Regions from separate parts of the Homo sapiens genome. Here all the other regions are linked to region 1. Evidence: promoter capture Hi-C in 16 types of primary human blood cells and fetal thymus (Javierre and others, 2016). All regions are on one chromosome and are shown on one strand. The core of a region is centred on a gene start or on the middle of the fragment in contact, and the rest is flanking DNA. Distances in the headings are between cores, read along the strand shown.

The links. The method cuts DNA at HindIII sites, captures the fragments that hold promoters and counts their contacts. A CHiCAGO score of 5 or more calls a contact.
Region 2: a contact is called between a fragment that was not itself captured here and the fragment with the promoter of GGCT in region 1, in 1 of 17 cell types (total CD4 T cells). The highest score is 5.6, in total CD4 T cells.
Region 3: a fragment that was not itself captured here is called in contact with the fragment with the promoter of GGCT in region 1 in 9 of 17 cell types (total B cells, non-activated CD4 T cells, total CD8 T cells and 6 more); the score reaches 12.5 in total B cells.
Region 4: a contact is called between a fragment that was not itself captured here and the fragment with the promoter of GGCT in region 1, in 1 of 17 cell types (neutrophils). The highest score is 7.4, in neutrophils.
Region 5: a contact is called between a fragment that was not itself captured here and the fragment with the promoter of GGCT in region 1, in 2 of 17 cell types (neutrophils and total B cells). The highest score is 7.1, in neutrophils.
Region 6: a fragment that was not itself captured here is called in contact with the fragment with the promoter of GGCT in region 1 in 11 of 17 cell types (naive B cells, neutrophils, total B cells and 8 more); the score reaches 12.9 in naive B cells.
Region 7: a fragment that was not itself captured here is called in contact with the fragment with the promoter of GGCT in region 1 in 6 of 17 cell types (total CD4 T cells, naive CD4 T cells, total B cells and 3 more); the score reaches 7.3 in total CD4 T cells.

The regions. Positions count from the first base shown.
Region 1 is chr7:30,503,117-30,507,431 of GRCh38, reverse strand. It overlaps GGCT (gamma-glutamylcyclotransferase), which reads left to right and starts at 2,603. Exons shown (of 4, transcript NM_024051.4): 1 at 2,603-2,863. The coding sequence starts at 2,723. RefSeq lists enhancers at 2,128-2,217, 1,637-2,515, 2,658-2,867, 2,516-3,395 and a silencer at 3,018-3,197. The HindIII fragment of the contact is 6,754 bases long and covers 8-4,315 here.
Region 2 is chr7:30,200,573-30,204,315 of GRCh38, reverse strand. LOC124901607 (a long non-coding RNA gene) reads right to left here. Exons shown (of 3, transcript XR_007060274.1): 1 at 1-3,743. Among named protein-coding and RNA genes, the nearest start is that of MTURN, 67 kb to the right of the region's middle. The HindIII fragment of the contact is 4,238 bases long and covers 1-3,451 here.
Region 3 is chr7:30,130,660-30,134,398 of GRCh38, reverse strand. It overlaps LOC105375216 (a long non-coding RNA gene), which reads left to right. Exons shown (of 3, transcript XR_927146.3): 2 at 944-1,082; 3 at 2,916-3,739. Among named protein-coding and RNA genes, the nearest start is that of MTURN, 2.5 kb to the left of the region's middle. The HindIII fragment of the contact is 339 bases long and covers 1,236-1,574 here.
Region 4 is chr7:30,009,917-30,014,026 of GRCh38, reverse strand. FKBP14 (FKBP prolyl isomerase 14) reads left to right here. Exons shown (of 4, transcript NM_017946.4): 4 at 1-3,440. The region is part of intron 2 of FKBP14-AS1 (FKBP14 antisense RNA 1); the gene reads right to left. Among named protein-coding and RNA genes, the nearest start is that of FKBP14, 15 kb to the left of the region's middle. The HindIII fragment of the contact is 2,945 bases long and covers 210-3,154 here.
Region 5 is chr7:30,169,475-30,173,604 of GRCh38, reverse strand. No RefSeq gene overlaps it. Among named protein-coding and RNA genes, the nearest start is that of MTURN, 37 kb to the right of the region's middle. RefSeq lists an enhancer at 3,697-4,130. The HindIII fragment of the contact is 7,030 bases long and covers 1-4,130 here.
Region 6 is chr7:30,148,739-30,152,730 of GRCh38, reverse strand. All of the region lies in intron 2 of MTURN (maturin, neural progenitor differentiation regulator homolog), which reads right to left. Among named protein-coding and RNA genes, the nearest start is that of MTURN, 16 kb to the right of the region's middle. RefSeq lists an enhancer at 2,943-3,442. The HindIII fragment of the contact is 4,934 bases long and covers 1-3,992 here.
Region 7 is chr7:30,029,478-30,033,299 of GRCh38, reverse strand. All of the region lies in intron 1 of PLEKHA8 (pleckstrin homology domain containing A8), which reads right to left. Among named protein-coding and RNA genes, the nearest start is that of PLEKHA8, 3.0 kb to the right of the region's middle. The HindIII fragment of the contact is 441 bases long and covers 1,979-2,419 here.

The DNA of each region.
Region 1 (4,315 bases), core at 1,354-3,853:
GGAAGCTTTGTTCTTTTACTCTTTGCACTAAATCTTGCTGCTGCTCACTCTTTGGGTCCGCACCGCCTTTATGAGCTGTAACACTCACCACGAAGGTCTGCAGCTTCACTCCTGAAGCCAGCGAGACCATGAACCCACAGGAAGGAACAACTCCAGACGGGAGGAACGAACAATTCTGGACGGGAGGAACGAACAACTCCGGATGGGAGGAATGAACAACTCTGGACGTGCCACCTTTATGAACTGTAACACTCACCATGAAGGTCTGCAGCTTCACTCTTGAAGTCAGCAAGACCACAAACCCACCAGAAGGAATGAACAACTCCAGATGCACCGCCTTTAAGAGCCGTAACACTCAACCGCGAGGGTCTGCAGCTTCACTCCTGAAGCCAGCGAGACCATGAACCCACAGGAAGGAACAACTCCAGACAGGAGGAACGAACAATTCTGGACGGGAGGAACAAACAACTCCGGATGGGAGGAATGAACAACTCTGGACGAGCCACCTTTATGAACTGTAACACTCACCATGAAGGTCTGCAGCTTCATTCCTGAAGTCAGCAAGACCACAAACCCACCAGAAGGAATGAACAACTCCAGATGCACCGCCTTTAAGAGCCGTAACACTCACCGCGAGGGTCTGCAGCTTCACTCCTGAAGTCAGTGAGACCACAAACCCACCAGAAGGAAGAAACTCCAGACACATCTGAACATCTGAAGGAACGAACTCCGGACACACCATCATTAAGAACTGTAACACTCACCGCGAGGGTCAGCGGCTTCATTCTTTAAGTCAGTGAAACCAAGAACCCACAATTCCGGACACACCAGCACTTTGGGAGGCCGAGGCGGGCAGATCACGAGGTCAGGAGATCAAGACCATCCTGGCCAACATGGTGAAACCCCGTCTCTACTAAAAATACAAAAAATTAGCCAGGCATGGTGGCGGGTGCCTGTAGTCCCAGCTACTCAGGAAGCTGAGGCAGGAGAATGGTGTGAACCCGGGAGGCGGAGCTTGCAGTGAGCCGACATCACACCACTGCACTTCAGCCTGGGCGACGGAGTGAGACTCTGTCTCAAAAAAATAAAAATAAAATAAATAAATTGTAACCAGCAGTAATCCTCAGGGAGTAATTTGGCATCAAGTGAATATCCTGTTCCCTATCACCTTTTCACCAAATGATATCACTGATGATCCTGGCATGAATCAATTATAAAATTCCATTATTCATTTAGGATGACTTAGTTGGCATACTTTTGTAAAGAGAACTGTTTCCTCATCAACTGATGCTCGTCATCAGCTGTATTTCAGTTACCCCGAAATACAGCTGCTACTAGAAAGGCGGAATACCTGTTTGTTTTCTTAAATTATCACTTTGCAGAGTAAAGTTGGTGTAATAGTCACCACCAATAGTGTGGCAAATGAAGTTATAGTTTTTTTTTTAATTTGGATTACTCTTTGGGGGGAATGGCTTTTTTATGTTTAAAGTTTCCAATCATTTTTCAGTTTGCAGTCATTGTTATTTTTGATTCTCAAATTGTTCTAATTTTGGCCAGTGGGCAACTTCAGGCTGGTTCCCATGTCCTTTTAGAAGGACCTCGTTCGTCTTGAGAGGCGTCCTGAGCTTCTGACACAAGATGTTCCAAGTTGTCCTCATTCACTCCTAGCTCCTGACCTGGCATCAGTCATTTCTCGAAGGATCACTTGGTACCTTTTAGTGGGGGGTGGTATTTAGAGATTAATAGCTGGGTGTCAAGGATAGACAATGTTCCTATGCCCTTATGTTCATTCAAAAGTTAACAATATAGGTTTTAAAAAATACACCCAGGATGTGTGTGTGTGTGGGAGGGGGTAACCAAAACACAATATAGGGGTTTCTACTGTGACCCTAACTTATATTATGATCCCGATTTTTAAAAAGAGGAAACGGAGACCAGAGGTGCCCAAAGTTACTTGGCTAGTAAATGGCAGCGTCGGGATTTAAGCCCAGGCATGTAACTTCCATGTAACAGGGAAGGGAGTCCCAAGCATTCAGAGGGGCCGCTCCAGCAGGCGACGGGTCCGTGGAAAGGGGTCAGATTGATGACCAGTGCTGGGGGTGCCGGAACCAGCAGAAAGGGTGAACGGACCCGTCCTGCCCGACTCCTCTAGGCCAGGAAGGCAGGACCCGGCGAGCTGCCGGATGAGGGAGCCGTTGATGGAGTCGCCTGGGCCGCTGTTTCGCCTCAGATCTGACCAGAACTTCCTAAGGCACAGAAAGTACCAAAGAACCACACACAAGCACCCCAGAGCGAAGAAACCAGTCACGCGCCACGACCTTCAGCCAGTGTCCATGGGACCCGACCCGCCTGTGAGGAGTGCCTGTCCACCCCTCAATCAGAGGAAGCCTTGAGCAAGGAGGGGCGGGACATCAGTAGGTCGTGTCCAATGAGGAGCCAGCGCCGGATTGCTTCAGGACAGACTATTTCTGAGTCTCGGCGGAAGGCGGAGGGAAGGCCGTGGGGATGGCCAATCAAAGGGGGCGACTCAGGTCGGTGGGGACCGGCAGCCAATCAGGAGAGCGCTCGCTCCTGACTCGACCGGCCCACGCTTCCCGCCAGTCCCCTAACCCTGAGGCTGCCGCGCGGCGGTCACTGCGCCGGGGTAGTGGGCCCCAGTGTTGCGCTCTCTGGCCGTTCCTTACACTCTGCTTCAGGCTCCAGTGCAGGGGCGTAGTGGGATATGGCCAACTCGGGCTGCAAGGACGTCACGGGTCCAGATGAGGAGAGTTTTCTGTACTTTGCCTACGGCAGCAACCTGCTGACAGAGAGGATCCACCTCCGAAACCCCTCGGCGGCGTTCTTCTGTGTGGCCCGCCTGCAGGTGAGTGCCCCCTCCCGCGCTACCCACGCCGGGGCCGGGATGCCCAGAAGGCGCTTCCTCGGGGGCACACGTGGCCGATCGGGCCAGGAATGCAGTTCTTCTTGATGAGGGTACTAGGACGCGGCTTCCGCCTCCTGGGCGGGTCCACCTCCTCCGCTGCGCCCACTGCCCGGCCCTGCCCGGGCCACGGTGCCCTCTCGGGCTGCCTGGAGCTTTCCCCCTCCTGGCCTTTGCACCGGCTGCTCGGTCTGCACCGATTTGGCCTCTCGTCCACTAACTTAACAGATTGCATACAGTTGGTACTTCTGGAGAGTCTTCTCTGACCCGTGTCTGGGAATTGGTTGCCTTCTGTTCTGTACATAACCTTTGTTACAGCACTTCTCACCTGGCATTGTGAAAATCCGTTTACCTGCCTTTCGCTCCTCATCTAAGAGGTCCTGAAAGCTGGGACCATGTCTTATTTGTAATAATGCTGTGTTCAGTTAGGTCAAGGGGCTGCATGAACTATAACCAGTGTTGGTAAATCATTGCTCTTCAGCCCAGTCCATTCATTCATTTAGTACATATTCTTCCGGCACTTAACACTAAGGGTATAAACATGATTGAGTAAAGTGGCTGTTTCGAGGAACTCTCAGTCTGTAGGACAGAGGTGCAATAGATTATGTTCAAAACCTTTTTGACAGCGTCGAATGAGACAAACATGATCTCTGCTAACATCGTGAGTTCTTAGTTGCAAGCAACAGAAACTGGCTGATTTAAGCAAAAAAAAAAAAAAAAAAAAAAAAAAGAATGTGTTGAAAGGCTATTGGAGAGCTCACAGAATGACCAGGAAGGCAGGAGTACAAAGCTGACAAAACGGACAAGCATAAAGGGAGGCACAGCAACTGTAATACAGTGGGCATCACACAACAGAACCAGCCCACGGAGCCTCTTCCACGCCACTGCTGAACTTGGTAAACGTGGATGCTGTATTGTCCACCACCCCCTGCCCTGGACACTGCCTGCCTCTGTACATCCCTGCAGTTCCTGAAACCCAAATGTGTCAGCCTCTCTGGAGTCCCTGCTGTCTTGGGCACTAGCTTCTAATTGAAAGCCCCAGAATGTCCCGATTGGCTAAGTTTTGGCCACGTACCCATGCCGTGATTTTAAGCAAAACTGAGAGAACCAGCTTCTGGCCTTTGAAGCCTCAAAAATGGGAGTCAGGCTCTGATACTCCCTATTCCCAAACTCGTAAGGTAGGGAATTTCCCAACTGTAGGAAGGGAGTCCAAATGCTTACAGTCAGGGCAAGGGGAAGAGATATTAAACAAGGGATTATTCAGTTACAGGTATATGGTCCATCTTAAAAAGGAGGCATGCAAAGTGCAATGGGGCGTATGACCAGGGTACCTGACCTAACCAGGATGCTCAGGAAAGCCCTGCCTGAAAATGTGACTTTTAAGTTGAGACCTGA
Region 2 (3,743 bases), core at 83-2,582, 300 kb after region 1:
TGATCAGATCAAAGTAATTAGCATATCCATCATCTCAAACATTTCTAATTTCTTTGTGTTGGGAACATTCATTATCCTCTTTCTAGCTATTTAAAATTATGTGATATATTATTGTTAACTTTGTCATCCTACAGTGCTATAGAACGCTAGCACTCATGCCTCCTATCTAGCTGTAATTTCATATTCTTTTTTTTTTTTTTTTGAGGCAGAGTTTCGCTCTTGTTGCCAGGCTGGAGTGTAATGGTGCGGTCTCAGCTCACTGCAACCTCTGCCTCCCAGGTTCAAGTGATTCTCCTACCTCAGCTTCCCAAGTAGCTGAGATTACAGGCACCTGCCACCACACCCAGCTAATTTTTGTATTTTTAGTAGAGATGGGGTTTCACCATGTTGGCCAGGCTGGTCTTGAACTCCTGACCTCAGGTGATCTGCCCACCTCAGCCTCCCAAAATGCTGGGATTACAGGCATGAGCCACCACACCAGGCCTTGTAATTTTGTATTGTTTAACAAATCTCGAGACTTTTTAAAAAATATGCTGTTTTTTGTCAAACCAAGTTATTAAACATTTTAATATTATAACATCAGTATTAAAAAATGGATCAAAGTTGTTTTTATTTTTGTTTTTAAAGAATGAAAGCAGGCATCTGAAATCTAAAGAGTGCTAACTTACTGAACCCCTACATAGGTGGTTTCATGAAGTCGCTTTGCTTTTTACCAAATGACCAGGAAAGAGGGAGGGAAGTAATCTTTGGAGCCAAACTTAAATGTGACTATTACATGCGGATGCCAAGGCACAGGTTAAAAGTCCATTTAACTTGAGGGCTAAATCTTTATAAATAGTATTTTTATATTGAAGCAAACATGAATATATTACAGAGAGGAAGTCAAATATTTCCATTCAGGGCATTAAGAAGAAATTTAAACTCAAAACAAGCCAGTTAGGTCGCCAGCTCCTGTGTCCAGGGATATGTTTTTACTCTTATTTGTACTTCTGGAAAGTTCAGGGAAAAACTTTCAAGAAGGAAATAGATAATCTTGGCCCCTCTCTCTACATCATGGCTTTTCAGCTTCAGTTCTGTATTAGTCAGTATGGTAACGACTATGGAAGGGAGAAAACATAATTTATTTCTTTGCATTTTTATGTTCTTAGTTGAGACACTCTCCTAAAAACAAAAGTCACAATAATAAAAGAAAAAGAAGCAGAAGTTTATTAACAAGTGCTGTACCTGTCATGTGGGAGAGGCCTCAAAAGTATTTCTCTCTCGAGGCAGTGGCTTAGAGGCTTTGCTTAAATAATGTTTTAACAAAGAGCCATAAATAGTACATAGTGTCAAGACAAAAGAGAGAGACATTCCCGTCTTTGAAAAGGCGGGAGAAAGTGGAAAATAGTAGAATCTATTTCCAGATTCCTCTGGTGCCTCCTGCTGCCTTCTCTGGGCCAATAAGCAAGTGTCCAGTAAGGAAGGATTTATGTCCTGCTGTCAAGCAAATAGAGGCTGAGGCAGAGTGTTCCCCTGCATTTTTAGTGTTTTTAACTTAGCAATCCTCAGTGTTTTGAGGAGAAATGTTTTGGTTTCCTTCAACTGTAACAAGCAAGCTCCAAATCTCAGTGGTTTCACATAACAAAGTTTTAATTTTTTCCTCTGTATCACAATGCAGTAAAGATGGGGATGTAGTATGGTATGAGAGACTGGTCCACACAGTCACTGAGGGATCCAGGTTCCTCCCATCTTGTGGCTCAGCTACCCTCTAGGACTTCAGAGTTCTCTCCTAGATCCTCTGCATCTAGCCAGCAGACAAATAAAGAGAGACTATGTATGATCTCACAGAAGATTTAAGAAGGCAGGCCTGGAAGTGGTGTGCAACACTTCCAGCCACATTTCACTGGCCAGGACTAATTGCATGGTCCCATCTAGATGCAAGGGGGTGGGGAAATGTTGTCTAGCTATGCCCACAGAAGGAGCAGAGCACCCAGATATTGGTGGGCCCTAGCAGTCTCTGTCTCAAATTCCCAATTGGCTCATTCTTTTCAATGTTTTGAGTTCATTCTCCCTCATATACTCCCAGATAGAGTATATGATTACCCACTCATTAATCTATACCAGGTTCCTGGCCAACCTGTAGTTGCTTCATCACAGGCTTCTGTTCTCAAAGCTGCCATGCCACATGTGACCAGGCAGAGGCTGAGTTTTCTGTAGCAGTAGGAAACACGTCTGCAACACACTGTCACCTGGGGGCGGGGAGGGGAAGACCAAGCAGCATTCTCTGGGCATCTCACCTCCACCTTCCATCATATAGTCATACCCCAGCATCATGGGTCATTTTATAAAAGCAACTTCCCCAGCTTCTGTTGTTCACCCTTCTTTCTTAGAAGAGCTCAGAAAACTGTCCATGGAACCAGAGAAGGGCACAGCCCCCCACATCCCTTCCAATGAGACCTAGAACTCCCCAACTCTAGGCATCACGTCTCCCTCTCAGTCAGAGCAAAAGATTCCAAAAAGAAAAGATTCCAAAAAAGAAATCAAATATCTGTGGGCCTGTGGGCCTCAGCAGGTCACCAAACAACCCAGGACCAGTCTGAGTTTCCTTGTTTAGGCTCAGCAATGGTCATCTCATAAATGATCTGTAATGTCCTTCATTACAGATGGAGAAAAAAATGCATGAGTGCATGAGGGTGGTTTATAACAGTGGCAGCATACAGAGCGACCTGGCAGCTTTGTGGCCACACAATGATGGCTACAGTATGAGGAAGAGAGAACAGGGCTGGCTTTGGCATAGGAACCAAGGGGAAACGGCAGATCCCAGGGGCGTTCTTTAGGAAACGGCAGCAAGCCTGCTGATAGATGAAATGCATCGGAGTCCTTGGCAAAGTGGTTTCTATTGAATCTGAAATTGTTTGGGCTCTTTTGAAAATACTGGTGTTAATCCAAGTCTGTTGTTGCCACTGCATTTTCATTTCCTCTTCTCTCTTATATTTCTTGTTGCTTACATTAGTCCTGAATGGTTTACCTGCCATTTTTTACATAAGCAAATATTTTTAACCTCAGTGAGGTCACATCCTAACATTATTAACAGACCTTTTGTTCATTTTGAGTAAGAGAGAAAACTCCATTTTTCACATAGATCTTCATTAGACTTGAATAGAAAAAAAATGATTTGGTTTTCTCCTTTAAGATGTATTAAGCATCATATAATGCTACCATTCATTGGGGGTTCAAGTGATTTTGATGGAGCAGTGAATGAAGGGAACATCCACCCCAAACTGCTCCTCTCTTTATCCTTTGCCTTTTATTATCCTCCTTCCACACTACTGCCCCCAAAGAAAGTCACCCCACAAGTCAGTGAAAATCTGCCGTGGAACCTTCCTGAAATGGCACAGAGTCTATTCTCTTGCTCCATGGCAAATCTGTCATCCAGCAGTTGGTCATTTTTCCTCACCTATATAATGAAGCTTAAGATTTATTACAAACTTGGTCCAAAGCCTAATTTCTGTTCATAAAACCCTGTCATTCTTGGATGAACTATGCTGTTTTAGGGCCAAGATTGTAATGAAACACTGGCTTGGCTGTTCCCAACGGTGGGATTTAGGAAATCTAAGAGATGCTGTCTTCAACAGTGAACAAAGAGGTTTAGATCACCTGGAATCACTGGCTCTGAGCTGTTGGTGGAGTTAGCCTCCTTTTGTCCACAATGCTCACATTTCCAAGCCTGGATCCTCACATCTATTGAACAACTCATCTTGAGA
Region 3 (3,739 bases), core at 156-2,655, 370 kb after region 1:
TTAATGCATTTATCAGACACTAATATGAATGTTCACTTGCAAAGGGCGTGTGTGATTTTTTATTTGCGTTACGTAAAGCTGAATATTTCTTAGAAATGAGCCTCATAAGACTGGCTTCAGTATTATTCAGCTTGAATTCACATTGCATAACCTAAAAAGGTCAAGAGGATAAAGCACATTTTAAAACAAGAGTGTGTGGCCCAACGATTGCACCTGTTGAGTGCTCACTGGCTGCCATATACTGGACAGGCATTACTGGATTGCAGAAAATGCACTAGGGTCCTCGCCCTCAGGACTTGAACACTACAAACACAGACACGTTATAAACATTCAGCCAGCTTTTTTCTGTAAAGTGTGTCTTCTGAACCAGGCACTGTGCACGAATTTACATTCCCACCAACACGTATATATGTTTCCTTTTCTCTGCACCCTCACCAACATCTGCTGTTTTTTGACTTTTTAATCATAGCCATTTTGACTGGTGTGAGATTGTATCTCATTGTGGTTTTAATGTGCATTTCTCTGATAATTAGTGGATGTTGAGCATTTTTTCATATGTTCGTTGGCCACTTGTATGTCTTTTTTGAGAAATATCTGTTCATGTCCTTTGCCCACTTTTTAATGGGTTTTTTTTTTTTCTTGTTGAGTTGTTTGAGTTCCTTGTAGATTCTGGATATTAGTCCTTTGTCAGATGCGTAGTTTGCAAATATTTTCTCTCATTCTGTAGGTTGTCTATTTACTCTGTTGATTGTTTCTTTTACTGTGCAGAAGCTTTTTAGTTTAATTAAGGCCCATTTGTCTATTCTTGTTTTTGTTGCACTTCCTTTGGGGTTTTAGTCATAAATTATTTGCCTAGGCCAATGTTGCAAGGAACTGAATTCTGCCAACAACCCGAATGAGCTTGAAAAGCAGATTTTTTTCTCAAACTTGTTGTCTTTTCCAGACAAGAACTGAGCCTGACTATTACCATGATTGCAGCCTTCGCAGAACCTGAGCGAGAACCCAGTGATGCCATGGCTGTGCTGGGACTTCCGACTTTCAGAACTGTGGGCTATTAAATGGGTGTTGTTTTAAGCTGTTAGGTCTGTTTAAATTCTTCATGCAGCAGTAGAAAACTAATACACAGGACAATGAAGGAGACAGGCACATGAATATAAAAATGCAATATGCTGTTGTAAAGTTACAAAATGGTCCTTAAAAAAAAAAAGTATGGGTGTCTCCAGATAGCACAAGCTTCCTTGCAGTTTTACCTGGCACCACCATTTAAAGCATAATATGTGTTCCAAAAATGAATTCCTTAAATTGGAGATGAAAATATGAAAAATACATTCCTTTTTTCCTTTTTCGGGAAAGAAGGAGTTTTTTTTTTAATCCATGTGTTTTAAAATGTATCAGTCAAATTTGCTCCAAGTGATGTGATCAGAATTATGAAGTTATGTTTATTTAACAAATAGTTTTTGTCAGAAAATGAAAAACTCTTATGAAAAATAAAATTTTGGGTACAAAGCAATTGGTCAATGAAATGGATACCGTTGGGTTTCCTTAGAAATGCACTGAGAGCAACAGCAAAAGCTTCAGAACTCCATGTCTGCATTGATTCCTCCCTCTGCCATTTTAAGTTTTATGTGCATCTGCAACTTCCTTCATTGCTCGGAGCTCAGTTTTCTTTTCTGAAAACAGGGACAACAGTGAGATAAAGTATATAAAGTCCTTATCCCAGAACCTAGCACATAGTAAGAACTCAGTAAATGCCATTATTACTCTTAATCTACTTCTTAGGGATGATGTGTAAGAAGATCAGCTAATGAATTTTTAAAGTGAAATTCAGGAGTGATATGACTGGTAATATTGGTCACAGATGAACCTAAATCTCATTTTTTTTTCCAAGTCTTTAGAGCAGGGTTTCTCAGCAGCAGCACTATTGATATTTGAAGCCAAAAATTCTTTGTTGTTGGAGGCTGTCCTGCACATTGCAGGATTTTTAGCCACATTCCCTGGCCTCCACCCACTGGATGCCTGTAGCATCTCCCTCTACCCTCCCCTCTCTCCACTGTGACAAGCAAAAATTTCTCCAGACATTGCCAAATGTCCCCTGAGTGCAAAATTACCCCTACTTGAGAACCACAGATTTAGAGAGAAAAGTCTTGCAACAGTCGTGTTTTGGTCATTTTTACTAACTAGTGGAAAGGGTATGCACATAAAGCAGCTGAAATTCATCCTGGAAAGTTCATCTGCAGAAGTTGCTTGAAATTTTGTTTCCTTAGAACAACTGGTAAAGCCACCAGTTGCTTAGCTAAGAAGATCATAAACCTTTGCCCTGCCTCCCTCCTGTTTGGGGAGAGTCCTGTGAGGCATCCCAGGTTGTAGGGGTGTATTTAGGCCTCATGCACAGGGCAGTGGTCATTTCAGAACTCTAGCCAGGTGTTTTGTGCAGCCAGTAGGTGAGGAAACACCAGGGCTACCCATACCCCCTTTCTTGTGTTCCCATAGCCTTTGGCCATGGTTTGGAAGTAGAAGGAAAATTAAAACTTCTCCCCAGCCAGGCGTGGTGGCTCACACCTGTAATCCCACCACTTTGGGAGGCCAAGGTGGGTGGATCACCGAGCCCAGGAGTTTGAGACCAGCCTGGGCAACATGGTGAAAACCTGTCTCTACTAAAAATACAAAAATTAGCTGGGCATGGTGGCATGTGCCTGTAGTCCCAGCTACTTGGGAGGCTGAGGTGGGAGAATCCCTTGAGCCCTCGAAGTCGAGGCTGCAGTGAGCCATGATCACACCACTGCCCTCCAGCCTAGGTGACAGAGGGAAACCCTATCTCAAAAAACAAAACAAACAGACAAAAAAACTTATCCCCACCAGTAGGCAGAGTTGTACAGTCTTCATTGTATTTAAGGAACGTTTCTGTTCATTTATAGAAATCTGGACTTTGCTGTCTCTGAAAATCACCATTTGCCTTTGGGAGATGTGTGTTGGCAAGAAGAGGAGACATATTCAAACCCCACTGGCTAGGACATCAGGAGCTCAGTATGGAATGCAAAGGCCACCCTAGACTGTCCTGCTAATGCTGACTCTTCTGCCCATCTCTGTTTTGAAGTTCTCCATGGCTTTTATTCTAGTGTAAGTTTGATGTTAACATATAATTTGACCTTTGATTCACTCCTATATTGTAAGTCCGTTAAATTAGCCCTAGTTTTTGATAAATCTGCTCCATCCACATAGCCTTGTGGTTATGCAGTAGGAGGAGGTAGGCAGAGAGGGAAGCGTAGCTGGTTCCACATTCACCCTTCACCTGAACGCAAGGTCGTCTCATTGTATCAAGAGGGACTGTAGACCCCAGGTTCCAGGAGACGGTGGTCAGGAGAGAGGTGTTTGATTTGTCACAGTTGTGATGGGAGAGGTGAAAAGACCATAGGATCTGGAGAAGTAACTCCCAGGAGAGCAACACAGGAGGGATGAGAGCTGTCTTCTCCCTGCACTGTGCTCCAGAACAGTGAGCCCAGCAGTGGGGCGGGGAGGATAAGTAGAGGGCAGACATGAGTTAAGCCTGCGCCATAGTTTATGTGTCACTGCAACTAGAGTCTGAAAGAAAATCAAGTTGGAAGATCAGCGAAAAGTTGAAGATCTATATAAATGAGTCATTGTGATTTACCCCAACTGCCCAGTAAAGCTCTGGAAAAGGATTTCCTTCAGCCTTCCTACAAAATTCATTCTGAATTTTGTTTCTGAATCTTCCAAACTT
Region 4 (4,110 bases), core at 433-2,932, 490 kb after region 1:
CCGGGCGTGGTGATGCGTGCCTGTAATCCCAGCTACCCAGGAAGGCTGAGGCGGCAGAATCACTTGAACCCGGAGGCGGAGGTTGCGGTAAGCCGAGATCACCTCCAGCCTGGACACTCTGTCTCGAAAAAAAGAAAAGAAACACGGTTAATAACATATAAATATGTATGCATTGAGACATGCTACCTAGGACTTAAGCTGATGAAGCTTGGCTCCTAGTGATTGGTGGCCTATTATGATAAATAGGACAAATCATTTATGTGTGAGTTTCTTTGTAATAAAATGTATCAATATGTTATAGATGAGGTAGAAAGTTATATTTATATTCAATATTTACTTCTTAAGGCTAGCGGAATATCCTTCCTGGTTCTTTAATGGGTAGTCTATAGTATATTATACTACAATAACATTGTATCATAAGATAAAGTAGTAAACCAGTCTACATTTTCCCATTTCTGTCTCATCAAAAACTGAAGTTAGCTGGGTGTGGTGGCTCATGCCTGTAATCCCAGCACTTTGGGGGCCAAGGAGGGTGGATCACTTGAGATCAGGAGTTCAAGACCAGCCTGGCCAACATGGTGAAACCTTGTCTCTACTAAAAATACAAAAATTAGCCAGGCGTGGTGGTGCACACCTGTAGTCCCAGCTACTCGGGAGGCTGAGACAGGAGATTTGCTTGAACCCGGGAGGCGGAGGTTGCAGTGAGCCAAGATTGTGCCACTGCACTCCAGCCTGGGTGACAGAGCAAGACTCCATCTCAAAAAAAAAAAAAGAAGCAGACCTACAGCAGCTACTATTGAATAAATACCTATCCTGGATTTTAAAAAAGAAAAAAATATATATAATTTTATTTTAAATTGGCTTTTATCTTTAATTCTTTTTTTTAAAGTTATCAAATCTTCATTTTCTAAGAGTAGCCCTTTATAGTGTACAAAATGATATTAAGTGCATTATTATCTTCGCTTTTCATGGCTCTGAGTCATAAAACAAGCTGGTGGATCTCACTGTACCTAATTTATAGACGAGGAAATTGTCATTCAAAAAGATTGACTGTTATGCCCAGGGTCAGCACTAACCTGCAGAACCAGTATTCAGTCCCCAAGTTCAGTGTCTTCTACTGCCCTCTACTAATGAAAAGTGAAAATTTCCCTGGGGTCTAATTCTCTCTTCAGTTTGCTGTGCCGTTGTTTATCTTTGAGTCTTCATTCTCTGAAGATGGCTTTCTGCCTGTTTCTGGTACATTAGAATTCTCACTATGATATAGAAATGGCTTCAGTTTCATAGCATAATCTTGCAGTTAGCTCTGAATTGCCTCAAAAACCCTGAACAACGCGAGGTTCCAGATGTGTTTTACTTCTTTCATTCATATTTACCCCCATTTGTTGTTTAAAAAGAATTATGAACAATTATTACATCATATGTAGACCACTTTCACTGATTATATGTTGACATTTTCCTCAGTAAAACATAAAGTTCTTAACAAGACTATACTGTAACACCTTTCTCCAACAAAATCAGCTGTATGTTGAAAACTATTAAGTCATTGCTAATGTTTTAAGCCATAATACAGACAGCCTTATACTCTATGATGGGAGAAGGGAAAGTAGTTTGTCCGATGGTGCTACTCTGTATAAACATTACTGATGCTATCTATAGTAGGGCAAGAAAAGTAAAAAGAGTTTTGATTATTCAGGCAGCATTTTTAAAAACCTGTGAATTTGTATCAGTTCTCATCTAAACATTTGGACACAAGTATAAAATGAAAACATATGCACAAGTTATGGTTTTTAAGTTATCTGCTCTTTTTTTTGGTTTCACTGTACCTTTGTACTCTTCTATTAGTGGGAATAATCAGACATGAACTGTGACTTCACATGTACAGTCATACCTCACTTAATGATGGAGATGCACTCTGAGAAATGTCTAATTAGGTTATTTCATCGTTGTGGGAACATCATAGAGTGTACTTACACAAACCTAGATAGTGTAGCCTGCTACACATGTAGGACATGTATATAGCCTATTGCTCCTAGGCTACAGCATGTTGCTGTTCTGAATCATGTAGGCAATTGTAACACAATGGCAAGTGTCTGTTTATTCAAACATCTAAACACAGAAAAGATACTACAACAATAACAATATGGTATAAAAGATTTTGTAAAAAATCTGGTCAGGTGCAGTGGTTCACGCCTGTAATCCTAGCACTTTGGGAGGCTGCCTCAGCAGGTGGATTGCTTGAGCCCAGAAGCTCAAGACCAGCCTGGGCAACATGGCGAAACCCCGTCTCTGCTAAAAGTACAAAAGCTGAGGTTGGAGGATCACCTGAGCCTGGCAAGGTCAAGGCTGCAGTGAGCCATGATCATACCACTGCACTCCAGCCTGGGTGACAGAGTGACTCCCCATCTAAAAAAAAAAATATATATATATATATATACTATATATATATATATACCATATATATGGTATATATATATATAGTATATATATATATGGTGTGTGTATATATATATATATGGTATACCTGTATAGGGCACTTACTAACGGAGCTTACAGAACTGGAAGTTGCTCTGGATGAGTCAGTGGTGAGTGAATGTAAAGGCCTAGGACATTACTGTACACTACTGTAGACTTTATAAACACCGTACACTTAGGTGACACTAAAATTTATAAAAAATGTTTTTCTTCTGGTTGGGCATGGTGCCTTATGCCTATAATCCCAGCATTATGGGAGGCCAAGGTGGGTGGATCACTCGAGGTCATGAGTTTGGGACCAGCCGGGCCAACATGGCTAAACCCCATCTCTACTAAAAATACGATAATTAGCCAGGTGTGGTGGCACATGCGTGTAGTCCCAGCTAATTGAGAGGCTGAGGCAGGAGAATTGCTTGAATCCAGGAGGTGGAGGTTGCAGTGAGCCAAGATCGAACCACTGCACTCTAGTCTGGGTGACAGAGGAGCAAGACTCTGTCTCAAAAAAAAAAATTCTATAATTTTTATAGAAATAATAAAAAACTAACCTTAGCTTACTGTAAATTTTCTAGTTTAGAAACTTATTTAAAAACAATTTTTGGACTCTTCTAGTAATAACGTAGCTTAAAACACACATTGCATAGCTGTACAAAAATATTTTCCTTATATCCTTATTATATAAGCTTTTATCTATTTAAATTTTGAATTTTTAAACTTTTTGGTCAAAAACCAAGACAAACACACTAGCCTAGGCCTATGCAGGGTCAGGATCAAGACATCCCTAGCAGGTGACAGGAATTTTTCAACTCCATTATAATCTGTGGGGCCACCATCATATATATATTGTACATTGACCGAAACATGGTTACATGACTATATAATTTGCGTCAATACTGCTCAGTGTGCCATATTTAAATTTACATGACTATATTGTGATATTCTTTTCAAAATAAAGTTTATTTGGGAGATAACTGATTTTGTGAAAAATTCTTCAACACCAATTTCCTCAGCAGTTGTACTGATTTTCTTACCTGTTATTCTAAATTTTATACCAAAAGTGAGGAAGATGGACAGGTAGTGGAAGGAGAGGGGTACAGTGACACTTTGTGCCTCTGATTATCTGCTCTGTATAGGTATATTTGTAAGAAAAGCTGTGGTTTGATTTAAATTCTTTTGAAATATGCATTAAGTCTTGACCTTTAGCATGATAGTTAATAGTTAATTCTTAGCACTGAAGAAAGTGTTTTTGGTTTTTCGAGGGGGAGGAGGGAGGGTGATGGTTATTATCACTGTTGTTTTGGTTTAGGGTTTTATCGTGTGTAGCAGGTGGACACACTGATTTATGCCTACTGCGTAAATCAGTGCTATAAAATACCCTCTGATTAAACGAAATGCGGGGTTGCCATGAAAATAACGAGAAACAATGATTTCTGATTCAGATGAAGAATCTAGCCATTTGGATCTTTCCTTATGGAAATGAATTTGTAGTTTTTATTTTATTAATGATGTGTGGGATATTGCTTATATTTCTTTTCTATTTTTTTTCTTTTGTTGTTGTTGAGACACAGTTTCGCTCTTGTTGCCAGGCTGGAGTCCAGTGGCGCGATCTTGGTTGACCACAACCTCCGCCTCCCAGGTTCA
Region 5 (4,130 bases), core at 40-2,539, 330 kb after region 1:
CCTCTTGGTGCAATTCATTTTCCAAAATCCAAACCTAAAACTCCGGACTGCTCCCTGGGTTTGGCAGAGCTCAGCTGTAAACGAGGAGAGGGAACGTACAGGCAGCTGCTGCTACTGTCAACTCATCTGACATCATGCCAGGGCCGCTCTACCATTGTGTGCGACAGAACAATGCCTTCTCTGGCAGAGGAGGCTTGCAGTCTTGCCCCTTGGTGTCTGTCAGGGACTTGGCCGACTTCTCAGCAGGCCAAGAGTGCTGTGTGTGGCCCAGGAATGCCTTCTCTATAAATAGAAGTCATTTGCTGTGCTTCCAATGGGCTGGCAGCCTGAACAGCATCAGCATCATGCTGTACATTCTGCACAGGCCCAGCTGTGGGCGCAATGGTGCAAGATAAATCCGGGAGAGGAGGTGGTGCTGTTAGCAGGCAGCTGTTCAAATCCCATAGCCTGGGGCCACCACAGACCAGCACTGGCAGCTGCAGCTAGCTTCACAGGGAGTCCAGGCAAGTCAGAGATTTTGTTTGCCTGGCAAGAAAATGAATTTGAATCATCACTCGAGACTCACTGACCCATCTTGGGCACAGATTCTAGTTGTCTGTGCACACGAGTTACAATGACTTGGGCTCCCTGAAGTTAACACACACCCTGCCAGGAGGAAGGACAAGTGGAATCTGGTCCCAGTCAGAACCCAGTCTGCCACCCAGACTCTAGGAAGGTGTCAGAGCTCTATTACAGTTCTCTCAAATCCAAATTCCCATTCCCATCTTTCAGAATAGCAAGGAAATGCCAATTTCCAATGGGGTTTGAAGCAGAAGGGTCAAGTCTATGGTTAGGGTGAACACACGTGGTCACTAAGGCCTGCCTGAACAGTCACCAGGGAGAAGGGCAGGCCTGCCAGTCAGTAGAGGGAGAATGTGTCACAGCAGTAATGAGAAGGGAGGTACGAACCCAGAAGTAGGAAAGGAACACCAATTAGAATGAAGTAACTGGAAAAGGAAAGCAGATGGAAGCGAAAAACAAATAGGGTTTTGTATTAGTCAGTTCTCACTGCTATGAATAAATACCTGAGACTGGGTAATGTATGAAGGAAAGAGATTTAATTGGCTCACAGTTCCACTTACTGGGGAGGCCTCAGGAAACTTAACAACCATGGCAGAAGGCAAAGGAAAGGCAGGCACCTTCTTCACAGGGCAGCAGGACAGAGTGAGTGCCAGCAGTGGAAATGCCAGATGCTTATAAAACCATCAGATCTCATGAGACTCACTTATCATGAGAACTGCACAGGGGGGCCGCCCCCATGATCCAATTACCTCCCCCTGGTCTCGCCCTTGGCACTTAAGGATTATGGGGATTATGGGAATTACAATTCAAGATGAAATTTTGGGTGGGGGACACAGCCAGACTATATGAGGTTCTGAAGGCACAGAGTCTCGAAGGCCAGCTGCACCAACCACTTCCATGGAGTCAGTGGCCCAGCGCCAGTGGACCGACCCCGGGAGATCTTCAGGAACCTGCCCTACTCCTTTGGGGATCATGAAATCGTGGTGCCTGATGGCAGATGATGAGGATTCATCAAAGATTCTTAGATAGTGTTTGAAAAAAAGCCTCATCATTCCAGGCTTCCGGTGACTCAGAGCAGTGAGCAGGAGCCTGGATGTCCACAGTTCTAGATGTGAAAACCTAGGTGACTTCATTAAAGAAATGCCACCCCAAGCTCCCACCTCTGCCTGGGAGGCACATGGAGCATTTTTCTGCCCCTAGGCCACCCCACTGGAATGGGGCAGTTTCGGAATCTTCCCAGAGATGGTGCAGAGGCAGGCAGCCTTGGAAAAGCTACACCAGTGACCTGAAAGTGCTCTTGTGCCTGGGACAGCCTCTACCTTAGGTTGGAAAGCAGGCGGGGACACAGCACATGTTCTTGCCTTCCCACTAGAATAGTCTAGGGCTGTGTCTGCTTCATGACTTTCCAATTGGCTGATGACACTTTCTGGATGGTCATCTAGGGATCATGGGGTGGGGGCACAGAGACCTGTACCATCCACCCCCTCCAGTTCCTATTCCCTGATATACCTGAGAATCTCAGAGACTTACCAACCACATGCCCCAATGTTGGAGACCTGAGGTCCAGGGAAGGGGCACAGGAGCTTGCATTTCAGATGCTCTGACTTCCAGCACCTGCCACTCAACACATGAATGAGAGTGCACTGATCTGAGAGTGAAGCAGCCTTCCCATGTCCCCCCAGAGAAAGAGTAACACTGCCTTTCATCTCCCCATGACCCATGCATTCATTCATTCGACAAAGGTTTCTAGAAGGCCAGGACTGTGCTAAACACTGGGGATTCTGTGAAGAACAGGACAAACAGAGCTTTGCCTTCATTAGGTTTATGATCCAGTGGATGGACTGACAAGAAACAAGCAAACAAAGAAATGAGTACAGAATGGCCTATTTAGATAATGACATCTGCCTTCTTCTGAAGTGTAATCCTCAACTGGCCAACCTGATGGCATAATTATATCATGAGAGTGCAGCGAATTTCTGGGAGTCCTCTGATTCAGTCTAGGCTCACTGTTCCCTTTGCAATACTTTCATCTCCTTCCTGTTGGGGCCAATAGATGTACCAAGGGTAGTGTCGTCATTTTTCTACGCAATCAAGCATGCAGCCAAATACAACTTGGCCTCTGCTCATTCATATCCCCTAAATGTCACAGAAGCAATGTGACATCCTATGATGAGAGACCATGCTTTGGAGTCAGGCACAACTAGCTGCCCCCAGCTCTGTCACCATGTGAGCTTAGAAGAGAGACTTTTTTTTCCCCAAGTTTTGAGATGTTAATGGAGATCACTGTGGCATCTGTACAAGGATTTTATTTTTATAGAATGAGATGTGTTAGGATCAGGAAGGAATTTTGCCCAGCTCCTGGCACCCAGTCACGTTGTGATGAATCTTGGCTCCCTGTAGACATAGTGAATGACATGGTGAGCCTGGAGGCCGGCTCAACCCAGAGTTTCTTAAAGTGTGGTCCATGAACCACCTACATGAGGACGGCCTGACATATTTGTAAACTGTAAACCTGGAGTATTTGTAAACTTGCAGCTTCCTGTGTCCAGATTCTGTCTCCAGATTCTGGAGCGCAGCCCAAGAATCTGCATGTTTCACAGCACCAACCCTCCGCTCTGGCCCCACCACCAGGTGATTCTTAGGAGCCTTAAAGTTTGAAACTTGCTGGCTTGATTGGTGGGCCAGGCTTTTGTTACCCTGAGGGTCAAGAAATCACTTTTTAATGGTCAACCCTAAGCAAAAGAGCTTTCATAGGTGTAGAGAGTCACCTCACCCACAGCCTCCTCACCAAAGTACTTCTGTGTGGGAAGGGAGACTTTCGGGACTTTAGCATTCCTCTGCCCTGGCTAAATCCCCTCCACTCAGCACCTTAGGGCCACCCAAAGGAATTACCCACCCTATTTCAGGGGGATGGCAAGACCCAGCTAATGTTGTTTCTGGACATATTGGTATGTCAGGAGGTTGGATCTGCCAGGAGCTTCCTTACAGGAGGACCCAAGGAGCCTCAGTGGGCAGAGCTCATCCTAAGAAAAACATGTCAAGCTCACAAACTGGGTTCATGGGTGACAATGGCAAGGCTGGATGAAAAGGAGATTCTGGCTCTGTTACTCAGAGCAATGTCCAACTGTTTGGACTCATGCCCCTTCGGTGAGTGGCTGGAATGAAAGATGAATAAAAATGGAGAGAGCTGTCACTGGGGCATCACTCATTGCTCATTGGTGTGGCACTCTCTGTGGTCACTGGCAACAGCACCCTGGACCACACACCCAGGTCCTCACTGCCTCATGCTGGCAGCCTCAGGGTAAACACTGGTGGGTAGTGGCAGGAAAGTGGGCTCCTCTGGTGGGTGACCTTGTGCCCCTCTGTGGGCTCTGGCAAACCCACTGCCATTATGGGGTTCTGCAGCATCAGAAGAGAGGCTGTGCACTAAAGCCAGGGAGAACACCCGGTGCCACAGAAGATGAACTTGGGAAGCACACGAGTCAGCCCCCTAGGACCACCTCCCGGAATATTTGGGAGGAATACGAGAAGGGCTGGGAATCCCCAAAGTACGCGTTACAGTCACAGAA
Region 6 (3,992 bases), core at 1,007-3,506, 350 kb after region 1:
TGGAGGGGGCACTCAGCACAGTGGGCTAGAAGGTCTTCATAAAGGAAGGGGAGGTGGTGTCTGTACCCTGGAGAGCACGGCCAATCAACCATGGCTTTTGTGCATCGAGCAAGTGCCCTGTGGCTTCAGAGATCCTTGTATGTACCTTCCAGGGACTCCCCTTAGGCAGTCTCTCTTCTCCTTCACTATGTGTAGGTGTGGATAATGTGCTCAGCAATCTACCTCAAACGCAGATGATGATTCAACAGGTCTCAAGTGGGACCCAATTCTGCATCTCTAACACACTCCCAGGTGATGGGAATACTGTTAGTCCAAGAGCCAGGGGTGGTAGGACTCTAAAGCATTTGGGAAATGTGGCACCATATATCTTCATGATTATGATGCTGGCGGTATGGGGAAACCCCTGGTGGGGTCCTGGTCTGTCAGTCAGTCTTCTTGACCCTAAGGAAAAAAGGGTGGCAAGATGGATGCAGCACAATGGGCAGGAGGAGGCACTCTCTTACCTTTTGAGGCCATCATACTCTCTAAAAAAGAGAATGGTTTGAATGTTCATAACATGAATGAGAAAAAAAAAAAGGAAAAAAGAAAAAAAAGATAAACTGTCAATATTCCATGTTTATTATGAAACCCACATGTGTGCATAATCTTTTCTCATCAGACTTTCCCTGATCCACCCAGGCAGCTTCTGACAGGTGGATTCTTTCTCTTTTCCAGGCTCTTGACCAGACTCCATGAGTAGAGGCAAGAATTGGACTTTTTCTGGGACACAGGATTTTCCTGTGGGATTTAAGCCGCAGCTCTCCAGCCACTTGTGGCAAACTGAAAATATCAATCTTGCTTATGCCAGTGAACCAGAATTAGGGGGATTTTTCTGGCAGAAATGTCTCTTTCTTGAGAGAAGAAACGCAGAGTCACACAGCAAGCCCAGGAGAGGACTTGGGCCAACTGAGTGAGAATCTACAAGGACCACAGGACCCAACTCCAGGCCGGGCCATGGAAGCAACAACAACCAAACAGCACAAAAAACTGCAAGAGCAATAGGGGACTCAGGACCCTAATGTCCACAGCGTTGGTAAGGAGAAGAACACACTCGAGGAAGCAATAGTTCCTTGTTAAGCCCATAACACTTTGAGAGAATTCGAAAGGGCAAAGATAAAGTCTAGTTTCACTGCTAAATTGGAAATAGTAGGCTATTTCTTCTCTTGTAAACTGTTTTCTACCCAGCAGTAAGTCTGTCAGTTGACACTAAATATAAAACATGAAAAGATGGTGGGGAAAACTGAACGGCATGATCACCATTATTTAGGTCCGTAACCATTGTTTCATTCTCCAGCTCAATCGTGTATGACCAGCAACTGTCAATGGAGGGTCACTTAAGAAAAATGCAAGGTTCTGACGATTATCCAACTCACACTTACCAAAGTGATTGATGGGGGTTTCTGAAACCACTACAAGTAGCAGTACCTGCTCGTGGATGCCAACAACAGCCTGCCTGGCATTGTCATGTGCATACATGTGCCATTTGGATACGACATGCCAGTAGCAAGAAAAAATAGGTAAAAATCATACCTCTCTGAGCAATCAACATTAGCAAGTAGGAGGTCACTGGAGTGGAGTAGAATGTGGGTCACTCGAGGGAAGGTGGCCGGCTGCATCCACAGTCATTTACCCATCCAATAAACATTTCCTAATACCTGTTAGGAGCCAGAAACTGAGACTAAATTTAGCAGAGTGTCTGGGTTTTGACAATCCTTTGGGTTCTCAGTCTGACTTCAAAGTTCCCCATGAATCCACAAGACAGCTAAATCAGTATTGCCCCCATTTTAAAGCTGGGGACACTGAGGCCAAGTGTACCTGTTAGAGGCCACACAGCATGGGAGCAAAACAGGGCAGAGCCGATCTACCTTCCACCACATGGAGCCATTTCTAAGGAAACGGAGCTGAGGCAGCCAAGATGGACGCTTCCTGGACTTCCTCCTGGGCCAGCCCTGCCCCTGCTCTGAGCACGTCTAGGTCCGGCTATTCTTCAGTCCCACCTCCTCATGAAGCCACTGCCTGGCTTTGTTCCTCAATGAGCCTGCTCACACTGATACTCCTAGCCCTTCGAATACGCTGGAAGCCACAGTTTCATTAAAAAATATATTTTCTGATAATGTGATCATAGAAAACTTAGAAAATGTGGAAAAGAAGAAAATAAAAAATCATCCATAACCCTGAGCGCTTTGGCCACGTGCCCCTCTGGGAGGACAGGTGCATCCACTGGTCCTCTATGGAGTCCTAGCCTCTAGCACAGTGAGTCGTGTGGATCAGGTACTCAGTGAATGCTTGTAATTTTACCAAAACCAATGTTGATAAACTTTTGACTTACCCTTCTAATGCCTTTTCATGTTGAAATCACTTAGCAAATTGTTTTCTCTCTCCACCAATAATCTAAGGTTCCCCCCAACGGTAACCTGCTCACTTCTCCACAGTATTTTGTCTAGTATCCTCATCCTATCCACATCATACTAACATTGACTTAGTGCCTACCGTGGATAACGCACTGCACTGAGTACCCAACAAAAACTCCATTAATCTTCACTGCAACCCTAAGGGAACTATCATCATTAATTTTCTAATTTTACAAATGAACTGAGAAACAGAGAGGTTAAGTAACTTGTCTAAGGTCACACAGCCAGCAAGTGGTAGAACTGAGACTTAAATCCGGGTAGCCTGACAACAGACCTTGGGTTCTTCATGACTGTAGTACCTGTTCCCTCATAATTGGGTTAAGAGATGACAAGCAACCCCCTGCAGAACATGCTCACAGAAATAGCTCTCCCAAGAACCAGTAGAGTGCAGTAGGCAGAGCAGGGGACTGCTCTAAGATGAAGGTAAAAACACTCCTCCTGGGGCTGGCCCACGATAAACAAAAAAGCAGCTGCATGGATTGATCAGATTCCCATGTATTTTCAGGGAAATGATGTGCTGGTTTTACCCACTTGATAACCTGTAGCATTTGGGTAAGCGTTTCAACAAATACGTTCAACTGTGATGACAGCAACAAAACCCCTACCTATGTCTTATCTGTAACAAACCTCCCTTACGTAAAACAAACAGATAAATGGTGCCATTGGGAAGCAGTGCTCTATTTGGTGGAGGTGGAGAGTGTCAAAGTTTCTCCAGGGATCTCTGTGGTCCTTTATTCGGGTTTGTGACGCTCCCTCTCATTCAGTCTGGGGCGCATCCTGACTGGGAGAAACTTGAGGCCTTCAGCACTTCATCTTTACCAGTCCGGGAAGGTGCCTCCCACCAGCCTTGCCCTCAGGGGTAAACCGGCCCTGCCAGAGGGCGGCCCAGCCCACAAACCTCCTCACCAAAGGGCATGCTGTGCCACGTCAAGGCCTCCTCACCTGGGGAGCCACATCCCTGCCCACAAGGTAAAGTTCCACTTCAGAAAGGAAACCTGGAAGCCCAGCAACAGCACACCAAAGCTGTGGGCCCACGTGACACATCTCAGCGCCACCTGAAAGAACTTCCTCAACCAATCCAACTGCTTTCAGCTGCACATCCGGATTTCTTTTGGACCGCATTTGTTTCCTCATTTAACGTGGCTAGCCTGGTTGCCAAAATACAACCAGAGCCTCGGTAAGGAAAAACAGCACAGTGACTCCCGGCTGGAGCTCCCCTTCCCAGGTGAGCCAGTTCTGCAGGGAGGGGAGGCTGCCTGCCACCACAGACGACACCCACAGAGACCAGCTGGCGGCAGGTCAATGAGTGAGCCCCTGTGAGGAAACCTGCTGCAAAGCGAACCTCAGTTGCTAACGGGTATTCTTCTGGTTAAAATTTACAGGAATCCATTTCTTTTTAATTTTGCCTAATGTGATCTCCCTTCTTCGATGTCTAACAGGCATTTAAAACACTGACATGTCCAAAACTGAGCTCTGACATTACCAACCCCAAACTCCCCACCACCCGCCCCCGCAGCCTTCCCCATCTCAGTAAATGACTAG
Region 7 (3,822 bases), core at 950-3,449, 470 kb after region 1:
GAGTGACTGCTAATGGGTACTGGGTTTCTTTCTGGGATAATGAAAATGTTCTAAAATTGATCATGGTAATAGTTACACTTTTTATATATACTAAAATCACTGACTTGTACATTTTAAATGGATGAATTTTATGGTTTATGAATTATCTCCATAAAGATGTTAAAATGTTAACAACAACAAAAAGGGTTGACCAGTGGTTGTGAAACCAAGAATCCTCATACTCCAGATGTCTTCCTGGTACTGTTTACACAGCACTAGTATATATAGTATATAGGGCAAGAGTCACCTTCCTCCACCTGAGGGGAAACAAAATTATAGCACATCCTTAATGAAAACCATCTGGCCAGTATGATGCAGGCTTTTGTTATTTTCAGAATGCAGTAATGCAATGTGCTTGAGCTTTAACCTGCTGGAGAGGCACAAGCAGCCTTCGGCTGGCTGGAGTTCACAACAGCAGCCCTCCTATCAGCTGAGTGGGCAGGAAAAGGACCTAAAACTACAAAGTAGAAAGCACAGGTTAGAAAATTTCCTCGTGGCAAAACATATGCACAACATTGGGCAGTCAAAGCTTTCTTCACTTCTGAATTCCTCCCCACTTCCCACCCCCGAAATAGTCTGCTATTCTAGGTCAAACATACTTTAAATATAGGTACATTATGAATCAGCTAGAATTACATAATGATCAAGCAAGAAGGACCTTTAAAAGTATTGTCTAATGGAGCACTGACTCTGAAGCCACTTAATAAGTGGCTGTGTGACCTTCAGCAAACCCACGTCTCTATATCTCAGTGTCTTCATCTGGAAAATGGGCATAATAAAGGCAACTGTTTTTTGAAATTGCTGCAAAGACTGAGTTAATCCATGTAAAATGTTTAGAAAAGTGCTTGGCACATTGTAAGTACTAATAAATTTTTAACAGTTCTTACAATTATAAACTAGTAAATCCCATTATTTTAAATGGAGGAAGATACTAAGGCTCAGGATGCTAAAGTGACCCTGCAGTTGGCAGTAATAGGGCTGTTTGCCAGGCTTCAGGTCTCTCTGACTCCTGAACCAGCGTTCTAGAGTATTAATGTGTAGCCCTACATGTATAATACTCCTTGACTAAATTTTAGGTCTTGAAAGACACAAATAACAAACACAGTGCTTCTTTAGAAGTATGTCTCACACAATGTGGGAATCTGTAACATGTTTTTAATTTACTCTCTTCATCCCAAGTTTAATCTTCTAACATCTAAAGAAAGGTACTGGCACTAAATCCCGGAATGTCCAAAAGGCAGGATGAAACCAGACTGTAAACGAAAATACATGTAAACTTTTTTTTTTTTGTATTTTTCATTGAAGGAGGATAGAGTACCTGAATACGCTTAGCATTTAAGGGAAGAGACTTCTTTTCTCTTCTAGAAATACACTCACATAAACCTCAGACGCTATTATCAGGGCTTGATGAATTCTAACTTTCAGTAATTAATACCTATCGATTTAAAATTCAAGAGGCAAAAGAAGCTCACAAAATAATAATACATAGTATTTAGTGAAGTACAATAAATGCAGCAGGAGAGATATAAAGATGTAACCAGAAAATGTTCTACGCTACGCTAAAGCCAGAGTAAGCTTTTAAACAATCTCATCATTTCTCTCTCACAGACGCATGCATGCATGTACCCACATGCACACACACAATCACATCACAGTGTTTAAACCAGCCTATGAGGCCCTGAAATATCTAGCCTCCCGCACACCCCTGCATCTTTGTTGGAGCCTCACTCTCCTCAGCTCTCAGCCAGATGGGTCCTCTTTCCTTTCCTCAAACTCGCACGTCTCCATTCTGCTTTGGGGCCTTGACACTGGCATTCCCTGTGCCTGAAAAGTTCTTCTTTATTTCCTCTAACTACACCTCTGCCTTGGCCTCTCCAGCGAACTATTAACAGCTTGATTTATCCTTCAGACTCTGCTTAAATTTTTCCTCAAAGAAGCTTTCTCTAACAACCCGTACTAGCCTCTCTGCCCTCCCTCCTCCCCAATCAATCACACACAATGAAACATGGTTCTAACCACTTAACCAATAAATATCTTTCTTCCCCCACCAGACTGTAGGCTCAAGAAGGGCATGGGCTTTGTTCAACATTGCTTCCCCTGTGCCTAGCACAGTAGATGGTAAATGAAATTAACAACATCCCCTAAGGATTCAAAAGACCAAGTGATAAACTGATTTCCTAACTTCACTCAAATTTGACACAAGGCATCCCATATCAAGCTGTCAGCATGACAAATACACAAACCATACAGAGGCATGGGTTACGTACTACCTTTGGAGAAAAATTCAGAATGAACAAAAACTTGGATTGGGATTGTATGTATTTTAAAGTTAGTATGTGCAAACCTACAAGAAAAAAAAAGTTACTTTTTAAAACAAGCTTCAGAAAAAGAAAAAGTAACTTGTCACTAACACAACATGCTCACTTCCGAAGAACAAGTAGAAAAGTGGAGGGTGGAGGAAACAAGAATGCATGTGATCCTCCTAGGCTATTACCACTTCTTTCCCAAGTAAATTTATCTCCTAAAAGGAGAGAATATGCCGAACCATCATTCTATGTATATCTGGAAAATACCCAGTGGTGTGATGGGCTTCTATGAACAGTATGCCTACAAGGACGGGGCACGTGGGCTAAGGGAACAAGCAGCATCACGTAGAGACAGCTGTCTCTGGCAATGGCTCCAGTGCCCTCTTCTTCAGGGTTTCCACCCTAGCACCACTCACAGCATTAACTTCTCTTACTTTGGGAAGAAAAAAGTAGACTCTTTTCCAACAGAACAGATAGGAATCAAATAACAAAGATTCCAAAAGATCCTTCTAGAGAGTTCTGCTTTATTGAAGGATACACAAGGACAGTCAGCAACAACAACAGCAAAAGCATTTCACTACCAGGAAATAGTTACTGTATCAAGAGACTAAACTTTCTATATAGAAAGGAGAAGGAAAAGAGGGGGAAAAAACCCCACAAAACAACAAAAAAAGTTGGGGATGGGGAAGAATGGGAAAAAAAGAAGAATGTTGAAGATGAATGAAAAAAAGTGTGTGTAATGGAAAGGAGTGAAGGATCAGGAACTAAATTTTACTCAAGTATATGCATCTGAGAGCTTAGAGAGACCTCAGAAGGAAAACTGCCAGGTCGAGCCTCCTCCCCTTAGGTTAGCAGTGTTGATCAGCCTCTGTCATCCACCAAACCAAAGCCTAGCTTTGAGTTATTCTCATCTAATCTAATTGCAGACATCACTGAAGGTCCTTGACGCAAACAAGAAAAACCTCTTCTCATTTAGTCTCTATTAATGATTACAGAAAAAAAATAAACAGGTGAACTCACTGCTAATTACACTAAGCAAAGGGAAGAGATTCTGGGTACGCCCAATAGGGGCACCTTTGGCTGTGCTGTGTGACCTCCTCGAAGTTACTATGTATGCCAACTGATCCTCCCACACACACCCATTCTTAAAACACCCGGCGCATTACCATACTACAACCTTTTAAAAACTATCCCACAAAAGAAAGAAAACGTCTCTCACCCACTCTAAGGGATACTGGGAACATTTCTGCTTTCAAACACACTGCCTTTAAAATTTTAAAGACCTAATTCATTTTCTGTGATAAAAAGTTTACTTCCAAAAAAGTGGCTAGCACAGTTTCCAGCATATAGTAGGCTTGTATTAAATACTAGTTGCACACATGACAAAAATGATCGTTCTGAATAATTTTCACAGCTGTAGAACAGTTACAACCTTCTCAAGATATGAAGCTTTTACCTCCACAAACTAGAAAAAAAG